Regions from separate parts of the Homo sapiens genome. Here regions 2, 3, 4, 5, 6 and 7 are each linked to region 1. Evidence: promoter capture Hi-C in human tissues and cell types (Jung and others, 2019). All regions are on one chromosome and are shown on one strand. Each heading gives the region's core, a stretch centred on a gene start or on the middle of the fragment in contact. The rest is flanking DNA. Distances are from core to core; before and after follow the strand shown.

What was found. The method cuts DNA at HindIII sites, captures the fragments that hold promoters and counts their contacts. A contact is called where the count stands out against the background at its distance.
Region 2: a contact is called between a fragment that was not itself captured here and the fragment with the promoter of TPGS2 in region 1, in 1 of the 25 tissues and cell types used here (lymphoblastoid cells).
Region 3: a contact is called between the fragment with the promoter of MOCOS here and the fragment with the promoter of TPGS2 in region 1, in 1 of the 25 tissues and cell types used here (IMR-90 fibroblasts).
Region 4: a contact is called between a fragment that was not itself captured here and the fragment with the promoter of TPGS2 in region 1, in 1 of the 25 tissues and cell types used here (bladder).
Region 5: a fragment that was not itself captured here is called in contact with the fragment with the promoter of TPGS2 in region 1 in 1 of the 25 tissues and cell types used here (spleen).
Region 6: the fragment with the promoter of RPRD1A here is called in contact with the fragment with the promoter of TPGS2 in region 1 in 1 of the 25 tissues and cell types used here (IMR-90 fibroblasts).
Region 7: a fragment that was not itself captured here is called in contact with the fragment with the promoter of TPGS2 in region 1 in 1 of the 25 tissues and cell types used here (spleen).

The regions. Positions count from the first base shown.
Region 1 is chr18:36,827,609-36,831,205 of GRCh38, reverse strand. It overlaps TPGS2 (tubulin polyglutamylase complex subunit 2), which reads left to right and starts at 2,204. Exons shown (of 7, transcript NM_015476.4): 1 at 2,204-2,523. The coding sequence starts at 2,439. KIAA1328 reads right to left here and starts at 2,079. Exons shown (of 10, transcript NM_020776.3): 1 at 2,010-2,079. The coding sequence starts at 2,067. RefSeq lists a silencer at 1,845-2,444 and enhancers at 1,842-2,634, 2,735-2,844. The HindIII fragment of the contact is 11,405 bases long and covers 1-3,597 here.
Region 2 is chr18:36,151,620-36,155,309 of GRCh38, reverse strand. It overlaps ELP2 (elongator acetyltransferase complex subunit 2), which reads right to left. Exons shown (of 22, transcript NM_018255.4): 12 at 311-460. Among named protein-coding and RNA genes, the nearest start is that of ELP2, 24 kb to the right of the region's middle. The HindIII fragment of the contact is 6,175 bases long and covers 1-3,690 here.
Region 3 is chr18:36,186,165-36,189,859 of GRCh38, reverse strand. MOCOS (molybdenum cofactor sulfurase) reads right to left here and starts at 2,363. Exons shown (of 15, transcript NM_017947.4): 1 at 2,179-2,363. The coding sequence starts at 2,320. COSMOC (cell fate and sterol metabolism associated divergent transcript of MOCOS) reads left to right here and starts at 2,425. Exons shown (of 2, transcript NR_134605.1): 1 at 2,425-2,625. RefSeq lists silencers at 2,261-2,450, 2,296-2,559 and an enhancer at 3,319-3,695. The HindIII fragment of the contact is 25,317 bases long and covers 1-3,695 here.
Region 4 is chr18:36,106,705-36,110,263 of GRCh38, reverse strand. SLC39A6 (solute carrier family 39 member 6) reads left to right here. Exons shown (of 10, transcript NM_012319.4): 10 at 519-1,733. The coding sequence ends at 671. Among named protein-coding and RNA genes, the nearest start is that of SLC39A6, 21 kb to the left of the region's middle. The HindIII fragment of the contact is 4,534 bases long and covers 1-3,559 here.
Region 5 is chr18:36,084,992-36,089,121 of GRCh38, reverse strand. No RefSeq gene overlaps it. Among named protein-coding and RNA genes, the nearest start is that of RPRD1A, 19 kb to the right of the region's middle. RefSeq lists enhancers at 2,257-2,810, 3,919-4,130. The HindIII fragment of the contact is 5,618 bases long and covers 1-4,130 here.
Region 6 is chr18:36,065,142-36,068,910 of GRCh38, reverse strand. RPRD1A (regulation of nuclear pre-mRNA domain containing 1A) reads left to right here and starts at 1,352. Exons shown (of 7, transcript NM_018170.5): 1 at 1,352-1,657. The coding sequence starts at 1,507. RefSeq lists enhancers at 1,173-1,402, 1,114-1,629, 1,513-1,652. The HindIII fragment of the contact is 14,008 bases long and covers 1-3,769 here.
Region 7 is chr18:36,025,232-36,029,089 of GRCh38, reverse strand. RPRD1A (regulation of nuclear pre-mRNA domain containing 1A) reads left to right here. Exons shown (of 7, transcript NM_018170.5): 5 at 1,780-1,906; 6 at 2,015-2,190. Among named protein-coding and RNA genes, the nearest start is that of RPRD1A, 40 kb to the left of the region's middle. RefSeq lists a silencer at 3,750-3,858. The HindIII fragment of the contact is 4,412 bases long and covers 70-3,858 here.

The DNA.
Region 1 (3,597 bases), core at 955-3,454:
TTGAAAATCTTTTTTCAATAGTGTGAAAAGAATACCAGATTATAGGTACTTACTTTTTGGTCTTTTTCTATTGAAAATTCTACTATAAAGGCTCTAGGGTGGTCTGGGAAATAATCAATATGACAAAGGAATCAAGATGCAAAGACATGTAACTAAATCAAATGATTAATAACTATCATTATGCTTTTCAGCAAATATTCAGTAACAAATTTACATTTGACATTGCTTACAGTGACATTCTCTATGGAGATTTAAAATGAAAATATCTGAGGCTCGATGTTAACTGGTCATTACGTGGAATAGTCTGAGGGGAAAGGTGACACTAGCAACTTTGCAATTCCTTTCATACATCTGAATTAGATCTTATAGGATATAATCGCCACCATTTTTCCCCTGTACAATTTCAATTCCTCACTATCTATGAGAGGACGAATATTTTACATTAAATGTTGGGAGTCAGAATACAAGAGATAACGGAGTATATATGACTTCTACATAAAATAGGGGGTGATATAACTACATGAGTAAGTGAAAGTACTGGGTGCGAAGACCAAGAGCTTAGGTTCAGTCCATATATCTATTAATACACTTATTCAGTCCCATTGCAATAGCTTGTCCCCCCCCCAAACCATTGATTCTATATTTGAACAGTACCATAGGATGCTATAAGCTAATAACCTTCAAGTATCTCCTCCATCACAAAATTATGTCAATGCAGAAGCAGTGTTTCTTGAGAAAAGACTTATCCCAATTTCCTAACTTCCTAATTCAGCCCAGTTGTCCACAGTGCACATATTCTCTTCTGAAAGGTAAAGGAAAAAATATTTAATTTGCACACTGCACTAGTATGCTTTCATCCACAGTGTATGTACATGATTTCATTTGCTTTTCACCAACCTATCAGAGACAAATGGTAATTATGTCTAGTAAGTGCAAACACTAAACACGAGCAGCACAGAATACAAACATATCCCTCTCTCTACACATGACACTAATCCTAGTAACTCAACAAAGGAGTTGATAACACAGTTTTGTAAGTTTCACTGGGAGCTAAGAAGAATGCCCAGTGATTCTGCCAAAGGTAACAGCAACGCCTCAATTAATGCCATCACCAATCCTAGCAAACACAAAAAGAGCTGCCTCTGCAAGCACTCAGTAACACAGATTGCCGTCCCTCTTTCAAGTAACCCCTCTAAGGAACGTGAAGTAAATTATCAGGACCAAAGCTCAAGCGAGAAGAGTCTACCTACTCCAAGGAAAGAAACACTCCTGTCACACAAACATCTCATCACTGCTGCTGAACTGGTAATACTACCACTGGACTAAAAAGTTCCACTGCTTCTCCACCTCACAACGATCCAAGAACTTCAATGACTGCCAGTGACCCGCACTCCACAAGTAAGTCAACAATACTTCCAGGCACAATGATTCCCATCTTACGCAGTAACCAGCACCACCAGACCACATCCCAGTAACCAAGCTCCACACCTCTCCTAAAACCCCAGTATTAAAATACATCATCACTGGAGGGCCTTTTAAGTCCGAAAGGTCCTGACTTGCTCCTAGCAATGCAGACTAAAGACAATCCTAAATCAAAACAAAAAGGCTCCCTGTCCAGCCAACACCGACTCCTCCCTCAACTTCGAGCTAGCTCCGCACACTCAAGTCAGCCTGGGGGCACTCTGACAGGGTGGGCAGAGGGACCTCGGAGGGCCATCTCAGCCCTGGACTGAGCCTGGACTCAAGGCTATCTTTCTCGAGCTCACCGGTAGTGAGCGCTGGGAAGCATCTGAGCCGTGTCCCCACACCTGCAGACAGTACCAGTCTCTCGGCCACCTAACACCCAAGCAAGGGGAGAGCCCAGCACCTAGACTGGGGCCGAGCAGCACGTCCCCATCCCCGGGGTTAGTTCGGAGCTTCTCCTCCGCTCTCGGACTGCCACGCGACGGCTCGCCCCTCGCCGTCCCGTGGAGGGCGCCGGCGCCCCCTGTCAGGCGGGCAAAGGATACAGTCCCGGCTCCAGAACGCCGCGGCACTGGGGCGGGAGGGGCCCGCCACGTCCGCCATCTTGAAACAACCGCCACTCGGGGCGTCGCGCCTGGGCCGCCACGCCTCGGCCTGCAGGCTCGGTCCCCATTGGCCGCACCACGCAGAGGCCCGCCCCCGCCTGCGCGGCCGGCCCCTGCGGGGCGAGAGGGTGGGGGCGAAGGGGAAGCTACGTCCCGGAGGTGCGGTGTGGGGCACCGGGCGGGGCCGCGGGAACCGGCGCCCCACGGAGCTGCTGCTGTCAGACCAACCCCGGGCCCCCATCATCACTGCGCCGCGCTTTCAGGCGCCGAGAACTACCGTTCCCGGCATGCCATGAAATTGGCCTCGGCGCTGAGGCGGGGTCCGGCCCTCCACCCGCTCCCGCCGCGCGCGAATCGCGGTCGCGAGCCATGGAGGAGGAGGCATCGTCCCCGGGGCTGGGCTGCAGCAAGCCGCACCTGGAGAAGCTGACCCTGGGCATCACGCGCATCCTAGGTGAGGAAAGGGGGCACGGTGCCGAGAGGGTGTGGAGGAGAAGGAAGGAGGAGCGGAGGGATGAGGTGCGGGGTGAGCGGTGCGACGCTGGCCCCAGAACAGGAGTGGACATCGCTGCTGGGACTTCCGTTGTTACAGAGGAAAGTGGGGGACCTGGGTTTGTGATTAGGCCTTGAAAGTGTTTGCCAGGAGTGTTCGGAGGCAGAGCTGGGAAGCCTGAAGTTTCCCCCACTCACCGCCAACCAAGGTCCCACCCAGGAAGGACGGGCAGAGACGTGCAAAGGGAACACAGCAAGCACCTGACGGTTGGGAAGTTGGATCTCCCCCTAGGAGGCATTCTCAGCCAGGGCATTATCCCCGAAACCCAAGACCTTTCTCTGGGGGAAGTAATGCACCCGACCTCCCAGGGCGACAACTACGTCGGGTCTGAAAGGAATCCAACCTTGCACCACTGAATGACTCAGAGTTTTTCTTTTATCGAACATTTCTTTGTTTGCTTGCTTGTTTGTATTTTGAGACAGAGTTTTGCTCTTGTTGCCCAGGCTGGAGTGCAATGGCGCGATCTCGGCTCACTGCAACCTGCGCCTCCTGGGTTCAAGCAATTCTCCTGCCTCGCCCAGCTATTTTTTTGTATTTTTAGTAGAGACAGGGTTCCACCATGTTGGCCAGGCTGGTCTCGAACTCCTGACCTCAGGTGATCCACCCGCCTCGACCTCCCAAAGTGCTGGAATTACAGGCGTGAGCCACCGCGCCTGGCCTATCAAACGTTTCTTTAGTACTCACCACTATGTTAGACGTGAGGTTAAAAATATGAAAAAGACACAGTTCTGTGAAAAAAATAAACAAATGAGGTCACTAGGAGTGTGAAAAGAGGTCAGTAATCTGTTACTCAGAGATGTCACAGAGGAGGGGACTGATCTTACCAGGGAAGTTAAAGAACATGTCACAGAGGAGATGATGCTAGATTTTGAAAGACATATAGGAGTTAGCCAGAAAACTAAGGAGGAGAAAGGTCTTTTAAGAAGGCTGAAAAGCATGCTTCAGTGCCTTCCCATCACAATTATAATAAAATCC
Region 2 (3,690 bases), core at 1,083-3,582, 680 kb after region 1:
TGGCTCATGCCTATAACCCAGCACTTTGGGAGGCGGGGGGGGGGGAGGGGCGGTGCATCACCTGAGGTCAGGAGTTCGAGACCAGTCTGGCCAACATGGTGAAACCCCATCTCTACTAAAAATACAAAAAGAAGATGGGTGTGGTGGTGGGCACCTATAATCCCAGCTACTCGGGAGGCTGAGACAGGAGAATCGCTTGAACCTGGGTGGCGGAGGCTGCAGTGAGCTGAGATCGTGCCATTGCACTTCAGCCTGGGTGATGTGAAACTCTGTCCCAAGAAAAAATAAATAAATAAATAAGACATTTTACCTGTGATTGGTCTTTTCTCTTCCATGGAGCAAAAAGTCTAGTTGTCTGATCAGTACCAACAGTGATAATAAATTCTCCTTCTGGATCCCAGACTAGGTCTTGGACACCATCAAAGTGTCCTGAAATGACAATCTCTGGAGTCCACTCTCTCTGCAATGGAAGTGCTCATATCACATATCAAAATACTCAAAGACTACCACCAAAGTAAAGCACTCACGTCTGATAACAGAGAAGACTAAAGCCCTCTGGCAAGGTGAAAAGCTAAGTATACAAGATCGGATCACAGAATAATAGGATCCATTTTCCAATCAATCATGTAAGAGCTTAAGCATTCAAATATGTGTTGTATCCTTTAAATCAGTAACTGTGGGAAATTTCCCTCCATTCATCATTTATTGAGCAGCCAGATACTACTTAACCTTTCTGTGTCTCAATTATAGAATAAAACAGTTATAACAGCACCTACCTTCTAGGGTTATTATGAGGATTAAATGAGTTACTTTTGTAAAGTACACAGGACAATTCTAGTATACACTAGGTTCTATGTATTTATTAAACTAAATAAAAATTGTATAAAATGTAAAAATATTGTGTAAAACGAGTCAGTGGGTTCTGCATGTGGACCTGATGGCTTTATTAAGTAAAAAGAGTTACAGGTGTAGAGGACAGACAACTGAATCAAACCTAGTTGGTTCACCTACTAAGAAGCCTGCAACAACAACCATATAAACAAATAATGACAACAAAATATAGAAAATGTCATATGCCTGGTCCACAGAGCACCTTTTTGAACAACCTCAAGTGGGACTAAAACTTAACCTTTAGAGGAAAATTAAATGTGTATAAATAGCTAATAGGTCATTCAAAACCTAATCTGATGGATAAGTCTGTGACTAAACTATATTATGTCTGGCCAAAAAAAAAAAAAAAAAAGCCTGTGACAAAAAATGTTACTCCCTCTGTGAACAAAAACTGATTCTAAAGTTAGCACTAATGGGAGTTTACAAAAAGTTTTGAGCAATGGACAGCACTTTTGGACTAACAGTTTCCCACAGTAACAGTCCTGAAGGGCAGTGTTTGGCTTTTAAAAAATCGTCCTTGACTGTAACAATGTAGTGGGGGAGGCTACAAGTTGATGTGTGGGGGTAGAGGGACGTGGAAACTCTGTACCTTCAGATCAATTTTGCTGTTAACCTAAAACTGCTCTATAAAAAAAAAAAAGTCTATATAAAAAACAAGTCACTTTCAATACCATAAACCAATAAATGTTAAGTGTTTCCCTGAGTTCTGTGAGTCACCCCAAATTAACTGAACCTAAAGAGGGGGTCGAGGGAATCCTAACTTGAAGCTGGTCAGTCAGAAGTTCCTGAGGCCTGGACTGTGACTGCTGGGGTAGGGGCAGTCTTGGGGACTGAGCCCTCAACCTCTGGGATCTGACACTATCTCTGGGTAGAGAGTGTTGGAACTGAATTAGAGAACACCCAGCTGGTGTCTGCTGCTTGGTGTCGGGGAAGAAACCCCCACACATTTGCTCACAGAAGTTAATGATTGCTGTGGTGTAAGAGAGAGAGTTTTCCCTACATACTTAGTGAAGCAGGATTTGCTGGAAAGGCCCTGACTCACGGAATCGTGTGGTTTGGGAAGAAAAAGGATAAAAGGGTGGGGAATGAGGAATCTTTGATCATGTGCTCACCAATGGTATGAAGCTGCAGCTGTGTTGAGATCAGTTACTAAAGGTTAAAGTTACCAGTGGAATTTACGGATAGATCCAACTCCAAGAGTTGGTTCATTGGATACATAAGGAAATGCAAACTAAAAAGAAAAAAGTGAAATATTCAATCCAAAATTCAATCCCTTGGTCACTGTTATCTATAATGGCTAAAATGAAAGTACAAGAGGGTGCTGGATAAGGACTTGAGGCTGGACCCAGCTCAAAATGTGGGTGCGAGCTCAGGCCACCAGCCTCAAAGTCACCCACAAAGCAGAGAATTATGCAGGGACAACAGAAAATATTTCTAAGTCCTGTGGTTACCAAGAAGGTAGTCAATGTGGGGGAAGGGCAAAACCAAGTAACTACTGAAACCAAAGGGTGTAGTGCTAAGGAATTGTTCCATCTTATAGACTGGTATCATCAGTTTCCTGGGGAACCTTTGCTAAAGTGGACTATGAAAGTGATTAATTTAGGGGCAGTATCTTTGGTTTTAAATGCTACAGAGTGGAAGAGCATGTTTGGGTTGATGCAGGACCCACAGCTCACTAGTGAACAATCGTGGGTGGGGATATATAATCCAGACACACGGGAGATTATTCCTGAGGGAACGGCCAGCCAGGTGGACTGGATAAATGCCACTGTAAGGTCTGTTTACCCCCAAAAATGGGGACTGCCTAACATCATCTATAAATGCCAAGTGTAACACCCCAGATGGGGCAGCTAATATGCTTTGTATGCAAGCCTTGTGAGACTGGCTATGTGATGACAGGGATATTCACCTGCTGAATATGCCTGTTACCCAGATCACAGTAAATGCTATGGTTAAGGGGGTTCCTTCTACATGGGCACCCCATGTGATGGTACTCCTGCAGAATCAATAAACCGTTCAAGAAGCCTTATTAAACTTGCTGTCTCAGCTTCTCATGAGTCTTACAGATGCTAATAAAAACATTAGGTTGACAAGAAAACAGGAAAGGTAAAAGGGAGAGATTCAAAGGCAGGGTGGAAATCTTTAGATGGTTATTAAGAAACAAAGAATAAAATGGAAACTGATGGTGTTAAAACAAAGATCTTTGTTGTTTTTTTTTTTTTGAGATAGGGTCTCACTCTGTCACCCAGGTTAGAGTGCAGTGATGCAATCACGGCTAACTGCAGCCTCACCCTCCCTCCCAGGCCCAAGTGATCTTCCCACCTCAGCCTCTGAGTAGCTGGAAAAAAACCATTAAAAAACCAGAACTGGCTGGGCATGGTGGCTCAGGCCTGTAATCCCAGCACTTTGGGAGGCTGAGGAAGGTGGGTCACTTGCGGTCAGGAGTTGACCAGCCTGGCTAACATGGTGAAACTCCGTCTCTCCTAAAAATACAAAAAAAAAAATTAGCCGGGCATGGTGGTGGGTGCATGTAATCCCAGCTACTCAGGCGGCTGAGACAGGAGAATCAATTGAACCAGGGAGGCGAGAGTGCAGTGAGCCAAGATCATGCCATTGCACTCCAGCCTGGGCAACAAGAGCGAAACTCCACCTCAAAAAAAAAAAAAAAAAAAAAAACAGAACAGAACAGAAGATACTAAATGGATCTGGATGCCCAACCATCATTTCTTCAGCCCAAAGAATTAACCATGCCTGGCTAATTTTTGTCTTTTTTGTAGAGATGGGGTTTTGCCATGTTGC
Region 3 (3,695 bases), core at 1,114-3,613, 640 kb after region 1:
AGCATCCAGTCCAATGCTCGGGACACAGGTGTAGCTGTTATTAGAAACAGGTGAATTACCCCAAAGTTAAATGGCATCAGACCTTCTTCAGGAAAGAGAATTCCAGGGTCAGCTCTAGGTCATCCCCCTCCAGTTCTCTTTCCAGCATGGTGAGTGGTCATGATTCAGCACGAAGGCTTCCAGAGACCCTTGACACACATCCGTATATTCAATACTCTCCCTTCACAAAGGCAAGGAAGTTCCCATCCAAATCTTTAGGTAACACATTTCAGCACTTAAATCTTAAGCATTTAATTATTCTGAGCCACCACTTAACCAGAGTAATTCTCAAATTGGCAGAAAAACTTCATGAGGGGAGAGGAGGAACGAGGAAGAGGTGATGTTATTTTGGTTTGTTTTTTCCCGCCCTCTCTCTGTCTTGTTTCTAGGAGAAAAACAAGTGGACATGTTCCAAGACTCCCAGCAGTGGGAGGGGCGTCAGATTAGTGCACAAATGTCTGCTTTAACCGTAATGTAGAGGAAATACAAGGAACTTGCATTAAATAAAAGATGCCCACAACACTACCAGACATACAGTAAGTGGTAACGAGTTCTGAGGGCCAGCCTGGCTGACACATCCCAATTTTGCATTTGAGGGGAAAAGTACTGTTCTCTGAGGGACAAGAGTGAAACCAGGAGGGGACCAGAACATAGCTCTACTTTCCCAGGGTAGCATTGAGGGGAGAGGTTGGCCAATAGTGGGCGTGAGAGATCACAGCTGGAGGAGATTTAGGGGATTAAGGAGGTGCGGTGCTGATATAATTACTCAGGTAGCCTTGAAGAGTTGCTTCAAAGAATGGAGAGCCTCCCTCCCCAGCACCTGTAGGCATTCATAGTACCCCTCTATTTCTGAGTGGTAGGAAATTTCCATAATTAATAGTTGAGAGAGAGAGAGAGAGAGAGAATACGAAAGAAGGGTGAGGAGCTGTCTCCAGCAGGTGACCCTGCGAGAGGGAAGGATGAGGAGTGAATAGAGAGGTTGGCAGAAGGCACCCCCGTCTCCCTCCTGACTCTCCCTACTTAGGAAGCCAGAGGAGACACACAGGAGGAGGCCACAGTTCTCACAGCCCCCAAAGGGAAAACACAGTTACCCTCCACAACACCAGGAAGTGACCCGAAGCGCTGAAATCAGCTACCCGAGTAGTGAAACCTAAGTCATGGTTGCTGTTCTGCCCCCAGAAGGGGAGCAGTCACCAGTTGTTCATCGCGACAGAGCAGATACACTCAAACCCCGGTGCCCTGTGCCAAGACGTGCCCACTTCACCTGCACACCCTCCTTGACCATCCGGCACGCGGCCCTGGGGCTTGATGAAGCCCTGCACCCAAAGTCCCTGGCAGAGGGATGAGTCACGAACTTGGGCCCTGGCAGCAGAGGGCTGGGTCGGCCAAGGCCAGATGGAGCTTGATTTGCAATTTCATCAGCCTGTTCCGCTCTGAGGAAAGGCACGATGTGATCTTGGTGTTGTCTAATTCACAGGCTCGCCCTGTTCTTAAAGGTGAAATTGCACTGTTTGCTAATTCTTCTAGTCCCCCAGAGAACTGGAGCTCAGAGGGATTGTTCTGACGCTGTAAGAGTAAGGAAAATGAGGTTTCGAAAATCAAAGCTGAATACAGGCTATCCCAGAGGAGTCTGCAGAGCGCAGCCTCGGGAGGCCCCGGCCAAGAGGCCTTGGCCTCCCGGTCCCAACCTGGCGCGCCGTCAGAGGTGCTGTCCCAGCCCGGGCGCTGGCGGTCCACGCACCGCTCCTACCTCGGGAGGACATCCGAAGGGTCACGGCCGCTGGACATGCTGTCTTTTGCAACCCCGGCCCCAGCAGGCCCTTTACAGTGAGGGGTCTCCCGCAAGAGAGGGCAAGAACCATCCTAAGCCCCGCTCGCGGAGGGCGGGAAAAGGGGAAGACGGCTAGGTTGGTCCTGCCCACCGGAAAGTCGGAAGAGTAAGAGTAGCAAGAAGCCTTGGGGCTGCAGGTGGGACCTCAGGGAGCCGTGTCTACTAGGAGGACGCGTGGACACGTCCCTCCTGGAGTTTCGATTCAAAATGCGCCCGAATGAGGTAGCGCCGCTCTCACTAGGAGCAAAAGATCCGTCCACGTCGGTTCCAGAAACCTCGTGTCCCCCAAGCCTGCCCGCCCGCCTCACCTGCCAGGCGGCTGAACTCGCGCGCCCGCAGCTCGCGCAGGCTGCCCGGGCCGTAGCCGTAGGCTAGCCGCGGTGCGCTCGGGTCCCGGGAACCCGCGAAGGTCCACAGCTCCCGCCCTGACTCCGCCGCCGCGCCGGCCATGGCCCCGGCTAGTCCATCCAGGCCGGCCGGGCCCGGGAAGTGCGCGAAGCCGGCCCCCGGCGACTCCGCCCCCGCCACGCCTCCCAGGCCTCCAGCCTCCCAGTCTCTCGGAATCCGCAGCCTAGGTGTGGCGCCCCGACCGGACTTTCACTTCTGGCCAGCCCTTTCCCCACCTGGGCGCGGGAGCGGGTGCCAGTCTTTAAACAACCTCTCGATGGGTCCCACGAAGATGTTTCCAGACCCTTGGAATGCCAAGTTCAAGTTTAGCTATGTCTCGCGGAGAGGCCGGTGGAAGAAGCAACGAGGTGATCTTTCCTGCTTGGCATCGGCATCCTGGAACCCCGCGACCCTCCTCCTCGCAGGGGTCTCGGGACCCTCACCCTCTCAAGCGGGAACCGGCGTCTGGCGGGGGCGGGGGTGGGGGCGTTCTCGGGTTGCTGCTACCCAGCGGGGCGTGTGCTTGCCGTTTGTTAGAATGCGGCTGACCAAAGGGTAGAAAAGGGGAAAGATTAGGGATCCACGAGGCTAATAAATTCTCAGTGGCTGCACACTTTCGGAACCGGGAAGCTCGGGGGCTTCCCCCGGAGCGGGCCCTGCAGCTGGGATCCAAGTGAGCTGAGCTTCCCCGCCCTCCCAACCGCGTCCTGGGCCCTACTTCCTGCCCTTGCCTCCCCAACCCTGCATCCCGCCCCGCACTTCCCGCACGTGGGTGTGGCCGGGCCCTCTCTATTAAAGCAAGAGTGCCCTAGGACAAAGCCGCCCCTGTCCCGGACAGAGTGGAATAAGAGCGCCTCCTTCAATCCCCACTCGCGCCTGCACCCAGAGCACCTGGGACACAGCGGCTCTGTCTTGGAGAACAGGTGCCTCAATAGGGAGGGCCTGGCCAAACCTATGCGCGGGAAGTGCGGAGCGGGATGCAGGGGTGGGGCGGCAGGTGCAGGTAGTAGAGCCCAGGCATGCGGTTGGGGGGTGGGGGGAAATCTCACGTGCGATCCCAGGTGCGGAACCCGCTGCTGGGAATGGGGTGGAAGCAAAACAGGTACTGCACGCACAGGCGAGGTGCCTCGTGGGGGAATCGAATGTCAGGGATGGTGGACAGTGCGGATGGGCGGCAGGTGCTGGGGCTCAGGGGAGATAACTCAGAGGCAGGCTCGGTGGAGAACCCAAGGCCGGCGACCAGGTGCAGGCGGCCCACAGGCCCTGGAGGCATACAGCGGGGGGACAAGGTGGGAAGGAGGCCTATGCCCCAAGAGCTCAACCTGTGCTGCATCCAGGCCAGCTGCCACCCAGGGTATGGGCCGCAGATGCCCTAGGATCCTTGCTGATGCATGATGCATACCGGTGCCCAGCGTGAGAGCCATGGGAAGGCAGCACG
Region 4 (3,559 bases), core at 477-2,976, 720 kb after region 1:
AGAATGCTTAGTTTATTAATCAACAAAGGAGTCATATCTTTTTGTCACTAATGTCCTCAAAACAATCCCAACCAATCTTACCGCTAAAATTGTATTTTATTATTTTATTTTTATTTTTTACTTTGTAAGCAATCAAAGACAATATGTATCTTATATAGTATAAGGTTTTCTATCTCTGAACTAAAGACAAACTACATGTTATATCCAGTTCAGATATGCAGCCAGTAACTGAAGTAGGAAAATCAATATCGCTTTTCATTTTCCAGTGGAAACTGGAACCAATACAAACTTTTTCTTGCCCAGAACATCATGAGTAATCATTGTTAAACTGCTAGGAAATGCTGTGTGACATTGTTAGCTAGAGTCAGTATGTATGTAATCATGTTTTAAGGAATTAACTCACAGTATATCTAGCTACAAATAAAGCTAGTATACTGTCCTATAAATTTTTCTAAAAACTAATCTGTAGTTCTAAAAACTTAAATGTCACTCTTATTTTCCCTTACTTTTTTTTAAAGGTACCTGAAATGCTGCACAATGATGCTAGTGACCATGGATGTAGCCGCTGGGGGTATTTCTTTTTACAGAATGCTGGGATGCTTTTGGGTTTTGGAATTATGTTACTTATTTCCATATTTGAACATAAAATCGTGTTTCGTATAAATTTCTAGTTAAGGTTTAAATGCTAGAGTAGCTTAAAAAGTTGTCATAGTTTCAGTAGGTCATAGGGAGATGAGTTTGTATGCTGTACTATGCAGCGTTTAAAGTTAGTGGGTTTTGTGATTTTTGTATTGAATATTGCTGTCTGTTACAAAGTCAGTTAAAGGTACGTTTTAATATTTAAGTTATTCTATCTTGGAGATAAAATCTGTATGTGCAATTCACCGGTATTACCAGTTTATTATGTAAACAAGAGATTTGGCATGACATGTTCTGTATGTTTCAGGGAAAAATGTCTTTAATGCTTTTTCAAGAACTAACACAGTTATTCCTATACTGGATTTTAGGTCTCTGAAGAACTGCTGGTGTTTAGGAATAAGAATGTGCATGAAGCCTAAAATACCAAGAAAGCTTATACTGAATTTAAGCAAAGAAATAAAGGAGAAAAGAGAAGAATCTGAGAATTGGGGAGGCATAGATTCTTATAAAAATCACAAAATTTGTTGTAAATTAGAGGGGAGAAATTTAGAATTAAGTATAAAAAGGCAGAATTAGTATAGAGTACATTCATTAAACATTTTTGTCAGGATTATTTCCCGTAAAAACGTAGTGAGCACTTTTCATATACTAATTTAGTTGTACATTTAACTTTGTATAATACAGAAATCTAAATATATTTAATGAATTCAAGCAATATATCACTTGACCAAGAAATTGGAATTTCAAAATGTTCGTGCGGGTATATACCAGATGAGTACAGTGAGTAGTTTTATGTATCACCAGACTGGGTTATTGCCAAGTTATATATCACCAAAAGCTGTATGACTGGATGTTCTGGTTACCTGGTTTACAAAATTATCAGAGTAGTAAAACTTTGATATATATGAGGATATTAAAACTACACTAAGTATCATTTGATTCGATTCAGAAAGTACTTTGATATCTCTCAGTGCTTCAGTGCTATCATTGTGAGCAATTGTCTTTTATATACGGTACTGTAGCCATACTAGGCCTGTCTGTGGCATTCTCTAGATGTTTCTTTTTTACACAATAAATTCCTTATATCAGCTTGACGTCAGATGTCTGGTTTTCTTTTTAAAAAAAAATTTTTTTTACCATTGGAACCATTTTTAACTGTAGAGTTCAGTAGTTTTAAGTATATTCATGTTGTGCAATGAATCTCCAGAACTTCTTCATCCTGCAACACTGAAACTCTATACCCACTCAACGCCAACTCCCCATTTTCCCTTAGCCCCTGGTAACCACCATTCTACTTTCTGTTCCTAAAAAATTGAGCTATCTGAATTTTTAAATTATCATCTGGATTGTAGTATACTAATCAATTCATTTATAATATTGTATTGGGTGGCCTTATTCAATTTTTAAATTGTTTATCACAAAGGACACTTCAAAAAATATTGGTCCACAGTTTGTTTTCGGGTGTCTCTCTTTTTTTTTTTTTTTTTAACAACTGGACCTAAAGCTGTAGAAGAAGCATTATTAATATTCTACACTCTCAAGAGAGTCAGTGTTTTAATTCAAGATTTTTACGATGGAGAGCTTGTGATGAGACTCAATGCTTGAGAGAGACTCCAGGTATTATTATTTATAGGTCCTGGGAAGTACATGGCACATCTGGAGGCCACACACATGGAGGTCAGAGAATGCAGGCAGGGAAAGAGAGGGACATATGGGCCAGTGCCTTTATTGGGTCCAGGGCATTATTCAAACAAGTTTCCCTTGAGGAGTTTCAATTAGGTTGAAAGCAAGCAGGCATAAGTTCCAGGAGACCACTCTGTGACTGAGAGGTGGTCACTGTGACATATCCACACAGCCCATGTGAGGGTCAATGAGGCCAGACAGGCAAGCTGCATCTAGCTGTGCCATAGCAAAGTGGTTGACAGTGAGCAGCTGTATAAGGCAGCCATCTGGATGGACCACATTGAGGAACTGGGAGACATAGAACTGGAAACTGTGTCAAGGGTGACTGAGCTCTGCTTCTGTATGGGAAAGTCCAACTTATATTCCCAATGAGTGCCAAGGCCACATAAAATTATAAGCATTCACTACAATCAGTAACAAGTGGACAATACCATCCCCCCTTCATCTAGGGCTTACTGAGAGACCACGTCACCAACATTTCTGTTTCTCAGACCAAGCGAAGGGGATGGGTATCAGAATTACCTGGTTGGGGGTGCCTGCACAGATGAAATTAAGCATCCCCTTTGGTTGAATAGATTACTCTGCTTCAGAAACTCACAGACCTACCATAGTGCCACTGCTAGATCAGTGCAAGGTGAGGAAGTTCTTTTAATAACTGGAAATGCACCTCTAGGAGTGTGGTGAGCACAGAGACTTGTCCCTTCTTTCACAGAAATTCTGAAGGTAGAAGGTGTGCTGGACCAGCCCACAAAAACAGGATGAAATAGGAACTATGGTTCCCACTCCAGCTGGAACCTGTTAACGGGTATATGGAAGATTCAGATAGTCCCCATCACTCTGTGTCAGAGGATGGAGATGAGAGGAAAATGCAAAAGCTGTAGAATGTGGACCAAAGGCTGATTTTTGGGAGGGAACATAACTTGTCAGACTGGCAAAAAAAGTCACAAATAGAAATATCTTCAATGAAAAAGGAGATATAAATAGAGTAGATTCAAGCAATTATAAAAAATCAGCCTATACATTTGAGAACTTTTTGATACAGATTAGCTTTCTGGGAAAATACAAAATGTTCACTCAAGAAAAAAAAAATTATTACATCAAAATTCTCCCCTTCTCCACCCCAAACATAGGCCCAGTTTACAGTGTTTGACCAAAACTTCAAGACATAAATCCCTCATTTATCCAAATAGTTTCTGGGATTTAAAAGAGAAAGCTCATGTTAATTGAGGTTAGTGTA
Region 5 (4,130 bases), core at 1,282-3,781, 740 kb after region 1:
AATGCACAGTCATGTGTCGCTTTATAACAAGAATATGTTTTTAAGAAATGTTCCAGGCCGGGCATGGTGGCTGATGTCTGTAATTCCAGCACATTAGGAGGCTGAGGCGGGAGGATGGCTTGAGCCAAGAAATTTGAGACCAGCCTGGGTAACATGATGAAACCCTGTCTCTACAAAAAATACAAAAATTAGCTGGGTGTGGTTGTGTTGCCTGTAGCCCCAGCTACTCGGGAGGCTGATATGGGAGGATCGCTTGAGCCTAGGAGGCAGAGGTTGTAATAAGCCAATATTTGCACTACTGCATTTCAGCCTGGGCAACAGAGTGAAACTCTGTCTGAAAAAAAAAAAAGAAACTATAAAAAAGAAAAAGAAAAGAAATGCACCATTAGGCAACTTTATCTTTGTCCAAATATCATACAGTGTACTTACACAAATCTAGATGATACAACTAGGCTATATCATATAGCCTACTGTTTTAGGCTACAAATCTGTATAGTATGTTATAGTACTGAACACTGTAGACAATTGTAACACAATGGTATTTGTGTATCTAAATCTTTCTAAATGTAGAGAAGGTACAGTAAAAATATGGTATGAAAGATTAAAAAATGGTACACCTGTATAGGGTACTTACCACGAATGGAGCTTGCAGGACTGGAAGTTGCCCTGGGTGAGTCAGAAAGTGAGTAGTGAGTGAATGTGAAGGCCTAGGACATTACTGTAGACTCTATAAATACTATACACTTAGGCTGCATTAAATGTGTAAAAATGATTTTTTTCTTGAATAATATATTAACCTTAGCTTACTGTACTTCATAAACGTTTAAATTATTTTTTGACTCTTGTGTTTTAAATACTTTTTTCAATAGTTTTTGGGGAACAGATGGTGTTTGGTTGCATGGGAAAGTTCTTTAGTGGTAATTTCTGAGATTTTGGTGCACCCATCACCCAAGCAGTGTACACTGTACACAATGTGTAGCCATCGGGTTTTTTGTTTTTGTTTTTGTTTTTGAGACAAGGGCTCACTTTGTCACCCAGGCTGGAGTGCAGTGGCATAATCTTGGCTTATTGCAACCTCCGCCTCCCAGGTTGAAGCGATTCTCCTGCCTCAGCCTCCCAAGTAGCTGGGATTATAGGCACCTGTCACCACGCCTGGCTAATTTTTGTATTTTTAGTAGAGATGAGGTTTCACCATGTTGGCCAGGCTGATCTCGAACTCCTGGCCTCAAGTGATCTGTCTGCCTTGGCCTCCCAAAGTTCTGGGATTACAGGCATTAGCCACCGTGCCAAGCAGCCACCATGCCCGGCTCCCAATGTGTAGCCTTTCATCCTTCACCCTCCCTTCCTGACCTTCCCCCAACAGTCCCCAAAGTCCATTATATCATTCTTACGCTTTTGTGTCCTCATAGCTTAGCTCCCTCTTACAAGTGAAAACATATGATATTTGGTTTTCCAACCCTGAATTACTTCCCTTAGAATAATGGTCTCCAACTTTATCCAGGTTGCTGCAGATGCCATTACTTCATTGCTTTTTATGGCTGAGTAGAATGCCACATTTTCTTTATCTACTCAGTTAGTGGGCGTTTAGGCTGATTCCATATTTTTACAATTGTAAATCGTGCTGCTATAAACATGCTTGTGCAAGTGTCTTTTTCATGTAATGACTTCTTTTTCTCTGGGTAGGTACCCAGTAGTGGGATTGCTGGATCAAATAGCAGTTCTACTTTTAGTTCTTCAAGGAATCTCCATACAGTTTTCCATAGTGATTGTACTAGTTTACATTCCCACAAGCAGTGTGAAAGTGTTCCCTTTTCACCACATCCACGATACCATCTGTTATTTTTTGATATTTAAATTATTGTCATTCTTGCAGAAGTAAGGTGGTTTCACATTGTGGTTTTGATTTGCATTTCCCTGATAATTAGTGATATTGAGCATTTTTTATATGTTTGTTGGCCATTTGCATATCTTCTTTTGAGACTTGGCTGTTCATGTCCTTTGCCCACTCTTTGAAGGGATTATTATTTTTTTTCTTGATGATTTGTTTGAGTTTCTTGTAGATTCTGGATATCAGTCCTTTGTTGGATGTATAGTTTGCTAATATTCTCTCCCACTCTGTGAGTTATCTTTTTACTCTGCTGATTATTTCTTTTCTTCTTCTTCTTTTTTTTTTTTTTTTTTTTTTTTGACAGTCTCACTCTGTCAACCAGACTGGAGTGCAGTGGTGGCACAATCTCAGCTCACTGCAACCTTAGTCTCCTGGGGTCAAGCGATTCTCATGCCTTAGCCTGCCAAGGAGCTGGGACTACAGGCATGAGCCACCACACCCTGTTAATTTTTGGAGTTTTAGTAGAGACGGGGCTTCGTCATATTGGCCAGGCTGGTCTCAAACTCCTGACCTCAAATGATCCACCTACCTTGGCCTCCCAAAGTGCCGGGATTACAGGAGTGAGCCACCGTGTCCAGCCTTCTGCTGATTATTTCTTTTGCTGTGCAGAAGCTTTTTAGTTTAATTAGGTCCCATTGTTATGGAATCATTGGAGTGTTGCTTTTTGGCTAGAAACCTCTGTGGCTGGTGGCACCTTTGCCCAAGTTTTGCTCAAACTCACTAGGCTCATTTTGCCCACTCAGCCTGGTAGGCTGCGCTCAGCTCACACTACCGGCCTGGATCACATGCCTCCCAAAGGCCCGGATCCCATGTCTGCTAAGGGTGAGTCAGGCATGGAACAGTGAGGGGTATGTGAGCAAGCATGGGGTCTGGCCACTGTGTACAGTCAGACATGCCAGCTGCTACAGCGGGGCAGGCGGCTCCACATGCTGGCATGGGCACCAGCTCTCTGCGAGGCTGTGGCCAGACCAGGCTCACTGCAAGCAGCTTCCATGGCTGGCAGTGGGGAACGTGGTGATACCCGGAAGCTTGGAGATGCCAGAAACCACAGAGCCCCAAAGAGGCAGTCATAGTTATGGCTCAGGGAGCTCCCAGGTATGGGCTCCCCGAAGGGCTGCAGCTCTTCTCTCCTTCTCTTTGCCTACAACACGGTGAGCAAGAGGCATGCTTCAGTCCTGTTTGTGCTACAGCTTTTTTACCCTTGACATTCAGCAAGTTCCAAGTTGTTGTCCTGCAACCAGGAAGAATGAGGTATGCAGGTAAGTGAAGGGTGAGCAAGATGAAAAGGAGCTTTATGAGCAATAGGACAATTCAGAGGAGCCCCGCAGGGAGCAGCTCCTTTCTGCATCCAGGGTGTCCTGTCAAATGTTCAGCTTTTAGCAGAGAGGGTAGCTCCTCTCTGCAGGCAGGTCATCCCAACAAGTGTTCAGCTCCCAGCAGAGAGGGTACCTCCCCTCTGCAGCTGGTCGTCTTGTCATCTGTCCAGCTCTGGCTGACCCCGGGGCTTTTATGGGCCTCAGAGGGGAGGAAGTGTGTGCTGATTGGTCCATGGGTGGCCATGGATGGGCCCAGAAAAAAGACACCACAAGTTTTCATTCCGGCGCTCAGGACTCGCAGCCCAGCCCCCAGCCTTCAAGCCCTCCCTGGCCTGAAGGTGGGGTCTCACTAGGGATCCACCCTTTTTCACCCAGAAGCCTGTCTCCCTCCTGCCACCATCCATGGCATCTAGGGTGCAGAGTGCGAGAGCTTGAGTCCTGCTCCTGGGAGGGTGGGCCTCCTGCTTGCACCATGGAGCATGCAGGCATCCCCAGCTGTGCCTCCATGCAGCCTGGGGTGGCAGCTCCAGGTCCTCGCTGGGCCCCTCTCTGCCCACCCCTCCATGCCCAACTGTGCTGCTCCCCCACAGCGGGGGGCTCCACCCAGCCCCATCATAGCAGCCTATCATGGCAGGCTCCAGGGAGCTCCCGCTGGTCCCTGATTCTAGCTGGCCTCAGGCCCAGCTCTGCCACCTCATCAGGCCTTCCCTGCAATGGCAGTAGGTGACAGCAGTGACGCAGGGCCAGGGTCCAGAGTGGCAGAGCCTCTGGGCCTGGAATAGGTCTTGCCTGGCCATGCAAGGGTGGGGGCAGTGCAGTTGGCTGCCTCAGGAACACTGGGCACAGGGGACCCACTGCTGCTGTTGCTGCTTTTGCAGCTGCTCCTGCCGCTACCACCCGCGCCCCCCCTCTGTAGCCCATGTGAC
Region 6 (3,769 bases), core at 103-2,602, 760 kb after region 1:
TTAGAATATGATGGTGTATGCATTAGATTAACAATGAGATTTCTGTAATTAATTTTTAACTATATAAGTAATATATTCACGTATTCTTTTTGTAAAAATGAAAACAATATGGACACAATTTAAGGGCTCCAATTCTGATCCTCTCCCTGAGACCAGTATTCATGTGGTGTGTATTCCTCCAAACCTTTGCCATGAGTTTACGTACTTGTGAACCCATATGAACTACATACCTTTAAACAAGAAGTGGTATACTATACTTTTGCTTCTGTAATTAAAAAAAAATCCAGCTGGGCATGGTGGCTCACACCTGTAATCCCAGCATTTTGGGAGGCCAAGGTGGGAGGAATGCTTGAGCCCAGGAATTCGAGGTTGCAGTAAGCTGTGATCATGGCACTGAACTCCAGTCTGGGTGAGAGTGAGGCCCTCTCTCAAAAAGAACCTCATAAAAACCCACTCAAACCCTTCCAAATCCACCATATCTTGGATTAATCCATATTTTAAACTGCTGCATGTATTATGGAATATAGACGTATCTGTGTAGACTGCAACAGTGAATGTTCCAATTTTTCACTGTTACTGTGTTGGACTGAACACCTAGAATAAGCTTCCTGGTGCAAACATGCTGGTGTTTTTTCCAGCACTGACAGCAATTAGTGAAATTGCTAGGAAAGAGTATTCTTATAATTTTTAAATTTTTATTCATTTTTCATTTTTGTGGGTACATAGTAGGTGTATATATTTATGGAGTACATAAGATATTTTGGTACAGGCATGGCAATGCCTAATAATCGCATTATGCAAAGTTGGGTATCCATCCCTTTAAGCATTTATCCTTTGTGTTACAAACAATCCAATTATCCTTTTAGTTATTTTAAAATGTACAATTAAATTATTACTGACTCTAGTCCCCTGTCATGCTATCAAATACTAGGTCCTATTTATATTTAGTCCTTCTATTAGTCCTTCTATTTAGCCCTCCCCCACTACCCTTCCCAGCCTCTGGTCACCATCCTATACTCTATTTAGGAAGGTGTATTTTTAACCGTAATTGGTCATGCAAATAGTCTTTAAAGTGCCTGCCCCAATTTATACCAGTTTACATGCCTATGTAGAGATCTGTAATCACTGCTTCTTTGACAGAGTTTCCATTAAGGAGGGTTCAGGCCTGGCAAACTCCCACCATGCCTCTGAGAGTAACCCAGGCATCACGCCCCTGTCCGCCTCCCCTGCACTTGTTTCGACTCCGCCCCTTCCGCCTGGCGGTTCCACTTCTCGGCCGCGCGTTTTCCCAGGGCTTGCAGCGGGAGGGGCGGGGCGTGGGTCCCTGTGACGTCACTGCCGGCCGGACGCCATCTTGCTGGTTTGCGGCCGGTCTTGGATGAAGCGGCGGCCGTGGTGAGAGCGTGGGGAAGGGTGGGGTGAGGGGGCGAGGCCGCAGCTAGGGCGGCGAAACTCTCCTCCCCTCGGCCCCACCGCGTGGGACGGCGTGAACGTGGTGTCGGAGGGATGTCAGCCTTCTCTGAGGCGGCGCTGGAGAAGAAGCTGTCGGAGTTGAGCAACTCGCAGCAGAGCGTGCAGACCTTGTCCCTGTGGCTCATTCACCACCGTAAACACTCGCGTCCCATCGTCACCGTGTGGGAGCGGGAGCTGCGGAAAGGTGAGTCAACCGCTTATGTCGGCCGCTTCCCACCACCCGGCCGGCCTCCAGGCGCCCCCGGGAACCCCGTTTCTCCAGCGCCCCCGGCTTCCCGGCGTCGGGATGCCAGCGCGCGGTGGTCTGCGGGCTTGGAGGAGCTGCGTGCACCACGCTTCTGCAAAGTCTGGGCTTAGATATTTATTGAATAAAGGAATGAATAATTAAAAAAGAAAACTCCGGTTAGCTTAACACGGAAACAGTAGCAGGGGGTTGGGACTCCACACCCAATTAGGGCCAGAAATTCAGGTGGTCAGGTATTTTTTTCATTCTGTGAATGATAATGGAGGATAAGGGAGGGAGAAGGTAGGGGAGTGGAAAGAAAAAGATTGGTGTGGGTTTGGGAGTTACTTCCGTCATTTCTGTAACGCAGCAACTTATTCTTGTGAAATTAATAGAGGAATAGTTTTAGAAGTCTAATATAAGAAGATGGGTAATGCAGTGGAAAAGACTCTGAATTTGTAGATTTTAGAGGGTCTCAATTGGGCAAGTTTCTTATAACTTCTGCGTTGCAGATGCCTTACCTGAAAAGGAGAGATTTAGAGTAAGTCACCTAAAGTCCTTTCCTATTCTATGATTATATGCCCTAATGCAGTGTCTTTGTTTTGCAAAACATTTGATAGTGTTCCTGTAAATGAAGTAAACTTTTTTGAGATGTCTGTCACTAAAATATTCAGAATCAGTTCATGTATGCAGAGCAACTTTGTAAAAAATTATCCTAGTGCGACTGAAAATAAAAAATTTCATTTGCTTAGTCTGAGCTTGTACTTTAATTCTTAATTCATTGGGTAGAGTGGACACTCTTCATTATTGTTGCAAACATCCTGATGGATATGATGGTTTTTTATCAAGTGTTAAAGGTTTTAACCGTTATTAATCAAAATAGACGCTTGCTTACTGAACCTTGTGAAAGCTATATGATGTATGTACGTAACAGCCAAAATGTGAGCCAAAATGTTGGCTGTATATAATGGAGACAATCTGTCCTTGTATATTGTTTGTGGTTATGAAAACGTCACCCATCCTTGAGAAGAAATTGATTTACAGCCTTGTTTTTCAGTTTATGTGTAAGTATGTGTGTATTGGCCCTGAATGAGGAATTCATCTTCTGTGAGTGGACGGAAAGGTTTCAGAAACACTGATATAAAGGTCTGGAAAGTAGCTGTGAACTTTGAAAAGTCAGGAATTAGCTTTGCTTTTACATTTTACTAGATTTCAGAATCGGTAACAGGTTTATCTTGTTTTTTGTTTTTGCAGAGAGCATTTAGAAACACATGTAATCAGTATAGGGTTGATACCCAGACTCTCTTAATAACTATTACAAATCAGTAAAAAAAAAAAATGGCAGTACTGTTTATAGGCATTTCACGTGAGGAAACCTGAAAGGTCAATAAATGATACTTAATCTTACAAATCAGGAAAAAGTAAGCCAGTGAGGTACCACTTTATGTTCATCAATTTGGCAAAATAATATGACAATATGGATAATTGTTGCAGAGAAACAGGAACTCTTATACCACTTGGTGGGAATGTAAAAATATGTAACTATTTTGTAGATCAACTTAGTTGATGAAGTTGGAGGTATATATTAAATATATCCTTTGACCTAGCAGTTTTCTTTCTAGGAATATATTCTAGAAATAAGTATTGTTCTCAAGAATTGTTTATTGCAGCTTCATAATAACAAAATTGAAAACAAGTGAGACCCTGCCTGTGCAACATAGTGAAACCTTTTCTTTACAAAAAATAAGAAAACAAAAAAACCATTCCATTAGTTTGAGAATGGACAAATAAATTGTGATATTAATAAAATGTAATACTATCGAAAAGTTCTCACGAATGGACTAGAGCTGCATGAAACAACGTGACTGAATTGAAAAACAAACAAAATCTTGAGCTAAGAAAACAAGGTACAGACGAATAATGCTATGGGGGTAAAGTCTAAAAACATGCAAAACAGTACTTCTTTTGTTTATAGATACCTATATTAAAATATGCATAGTAGTGATTAACACCATATTCCAAGATAGTGGTTGTCATAGTGTGTCCAGAATTGGTGGGTTCTTGGTCTCGCTG
Region 7 (3,858 bases), core at 1,026-3,525, 800 kb after region 1:
GTTACATTTGGAACAACCAAACACTAAGATTTATGTCTCTTCCTATTTGGTAATAACTCATGACAGAAAATCATTTTTGGCTAAGAGCCTCATGATTCTATGAACAGTGTTTTACCTAAGTTCTAGATAAAGGATCTGGTCTCCTTCCGCTCTCCCTGATGAAAGGGTAACCACAGTTGCATATCTTAGGAGTATTTTTAAGTAATCATCTGCCTCTCCTCTAGTACTTGTGTAAAATGCTGTTGCTCTTTGTTTTATAATGATCGTTTTTTAGATTAGTTGTGCTGCTTAATTATCAATGGTTCAGCTTTGTGGTCTTCATTTTTGTGTGTGTGTTATTCTTTATAAGAATGGCTAAAATCTCTTTGTAGGTTCCCGTTAAACTCATTTCATTCTCCTCTGGTAGGAAGTAGTAGGCTTAGTATTGTTTCAGACAACTTTGCTTTCTTATCTGATGCTTGATCAGGCATTGGGAACTTAGAATGTACTCATGTAGGACTGTGAAGGTGTGATGAGATCAGGTTGTAATTAAAGCATCAATGCATTGCCAAGACAATAAAGCCAGATTTCTTCTTAGAACTCCAGACAATTAGAATTTTCTAAGAATGATTTTAAAAATAATATATTAGTTGTGGCAAGATGAGAAACAAGCTTTCTGGTAATTGTTGTTACTCTTAAGCACACCTTAATTGTAGAGGGGATATATCTTACAACAAAATTATTTTTTAAAATACTGAAATTTTAAACACTTCTAATGAGTGAGCACACGTAGGATAGTATATTTCTTATTAGTTTCATTCATTCCTACCACATTTGATCATTTGTCATGTGCTACCCTTTTTTTCAAGGGAATAGTTTAAAAATCTTAATATATACACAGAATTACTAATATCCTATATTTTTTAAAGCATATGTGTAATTTCCTAGTGTTTCTGAATCTAGTATTAGAAATTAAGAAAGAAAGATGAAAAAGATGGGCTGGAGAATGGAAACTAGTAAAAATAAAATTTAATTGTTTTTCTTTGGAATAACTTTATAGACATTATGAGTTGTGAAATCACCAGCAAAGAGTTGCGCTTCCCTCCTAATTATAGCTTGTATGAAAACAGTGGAAGTAAAATATTTTAATGATAAAATAATTTCAGTACTGGTTAAGCAATATATATTAGTCATCAGATTATGGAATTTTGAAATATTTTAATCTTATTAACAAGCCATAGGATACTTGAAGATATCATATTTGAACATATTCTAGAACTACATTTCTCTTGGGCTTTAATTACAGCATTTAGAAATGAAATCTGGGAGACTCTTCTGTGTTGTAGTAGATGATTTGTAACCCTCTTTCCATAATATCCAATTTAATACTAAAAAAACTTCTAGTGTACAATGATAATGTAATGAATATATCATACATAAAACTTGTATTCTCTAGGTTGATGTTATAGCCTACCTTCTCTTTCACCACTGATGTATTTGCCATATAAATCCTCATTACCTCATTTTAGTACTCAAATAATTATTATTACTCTGTCTCCACCACTGGAGTAAGCTCTCTTCAAGGTCTAGGGCCTTGTCCTGTTTATATTTTCAACACCTAACATAGTATAGCCTCCTTTTTTCTTAACATATGAAAGAAATTGATTGTCTTCAAAAGCAGTTTATATTAGGAGCTTTGTACTAGTAAATAGCCCATAGGGATGAAAGAATATGAAATTAAAGTCTTTTGCACTTGTTTAAGCTCAATTTATTTTGGTTCTGAAGTTGTGTACTTTTTAGACTCTAGATCTCGTTAGAGCATTACAAGATCTGGAAAATGCAGCCTCAGGTGATGCAGCAGTTCATCAGAGGATAGCTTCTTTACCTGTTGAAGTCCAAGAAGTATCTCTATTAGATAAAATAACAGGTAAGAAAAGAAAATGTGATCCAGAACTTTTTTGGGAGTTGGGATGAGAGAACAGCATATGTCATTGTTTTTGTTGTATAATATTTTATTATCCCGTGCTTTTCTTAGATAAAGAATCTGGAGAAAGGCTTTCCAAAATGGTAGAGGATGCGTGTATGTTGCTGGCAGATTACAATGGCAGATTGGCGGCAGAAATAGATGATAGAAAGCAACTCACTCGAATGTTAGCAGATTTTCTTCGTTGTCAAAAGGAAGCCCTTGCAGAGAAAGAGCATAAATTGGAAGTGCGTAACCTTTTTCTTCTTTAGTGCTTATTTATTTAATTCTCTTTTTGTTAGGAATTTTAAAATATTTTAATCTATGTGCACATTTTGCATTTTTTAACATAGACCTTTTTAAGCAGTAGCCCAGGTAAGCTTCTCCTTGTATTAATGGTTTTTCTTCTACTTGAACCAAATTAATCTTGCAAGTAAACTTAGAAATTTGGAATTAGCAAAATTGATTGCATTTAAAAATTATTCTTGTGAAATTCCATGCAACTATAATTTATCTTACCAGTTTAACCCTAATGTATCACAGAAATAATAGGAAAATAGCAGGTGGCAGTCACTTGTAGTAGGATTTATTTAGTTTCTGTTTTGAGAAGATGTAGTCTTTTAGGTATACCATTAAGTCTTTAAATTACTCCCTTAATTCCACCCGCCAATTCTAATGCTTACATGTTCCAGCCCCACTCCCGGCTCACACTCTTAGGCAGAAATTCATTGCTCCTGTAAATTAAGTAATAATTAATACCGCTAATGAGAAATCTGGGAGTACAGGAGGTGATTTTAAAAAATGCTCGTATTTCCTTTGATTAGAGTAGCAATTGTTAGGGATACATGAGCCAGATTTGGTTTTATGTAAAAAAAATCTTTCAGTTGATGAGTTCTTGTTTAAATTGTATTGCTGTGGCAATTTCTTATTGTAATAATATGTAGGAGAATTTCTAATTTGAATCCCTTTATTTACAGAAAGCTCACTGTAAATTTGTAGGAATGTCATGGTACTACCCCATTAAGTTATTTTTATTAGTGTTTAGTTATTGATTCAGCAGTCTCTAATTGTGCCAAAAATGGTGCTTAGATTAGATTGCCATTGCTACCCATGGGAGCTGCTACTTAATTATTCCCACCTCAAATTCCCAGCTCTCAAGTTAGCACTACTCCTTTGCAATTTACTCCTTCTCTGCTCGTATAAATACCCTCAGATGATGATAGTTGGTGGCCACTATACCTTTGAAGAGGTTGCCCACTTCTACATGGAAAGGAAAAGATGGTTTTTTTTTTTAAAAGATGAATTTGATAATTAACTTGCCACTATTTCACCTTGTGATGAAACCTCAATTTTAAACATAGTGTTAATTGTTTTATTGTCCACAGAATTAAGGGTAAGTAATGTCATACAATTTTTGTCTTTAGTCTTTTAGTATGGTTTCTTTAACTTCTATTGAGCTTCTGTTGCAGATATTGGACATGGGCGTATCTTCTAACGATGTCGTCACCATTAGTATATTCTTCCTGCTAAAAATAAATATCAAACCCTGAAGCCTGTATTGTCTCATGTTTTTGAAAATTGAAGAGAAGACTGTAACTTTATTCTGCTTTATACTTTCTCACTTATGATGATGGTCATTTGTCACTGTTTACAAAAACAGAATTTATATTTGAAGTGTAACTGTAGAAAATAGATCAGATGCCACTCCCCACAACCCCCTTTTCCCCCAGTGCCTTCCAGCCACATTTCATAGTTGACAGTCATAGATTATGAGGCTGATGATAATAATAATGTTAACATTCATGTGTCAGGTACTATTCTAGGCACTTCACATAAGCAACTCATTTAATCTTACACAGCAGGATGTATTATCCACATTTGATAGATACAGAACTGAGGCACAGGAAGATTAAGTA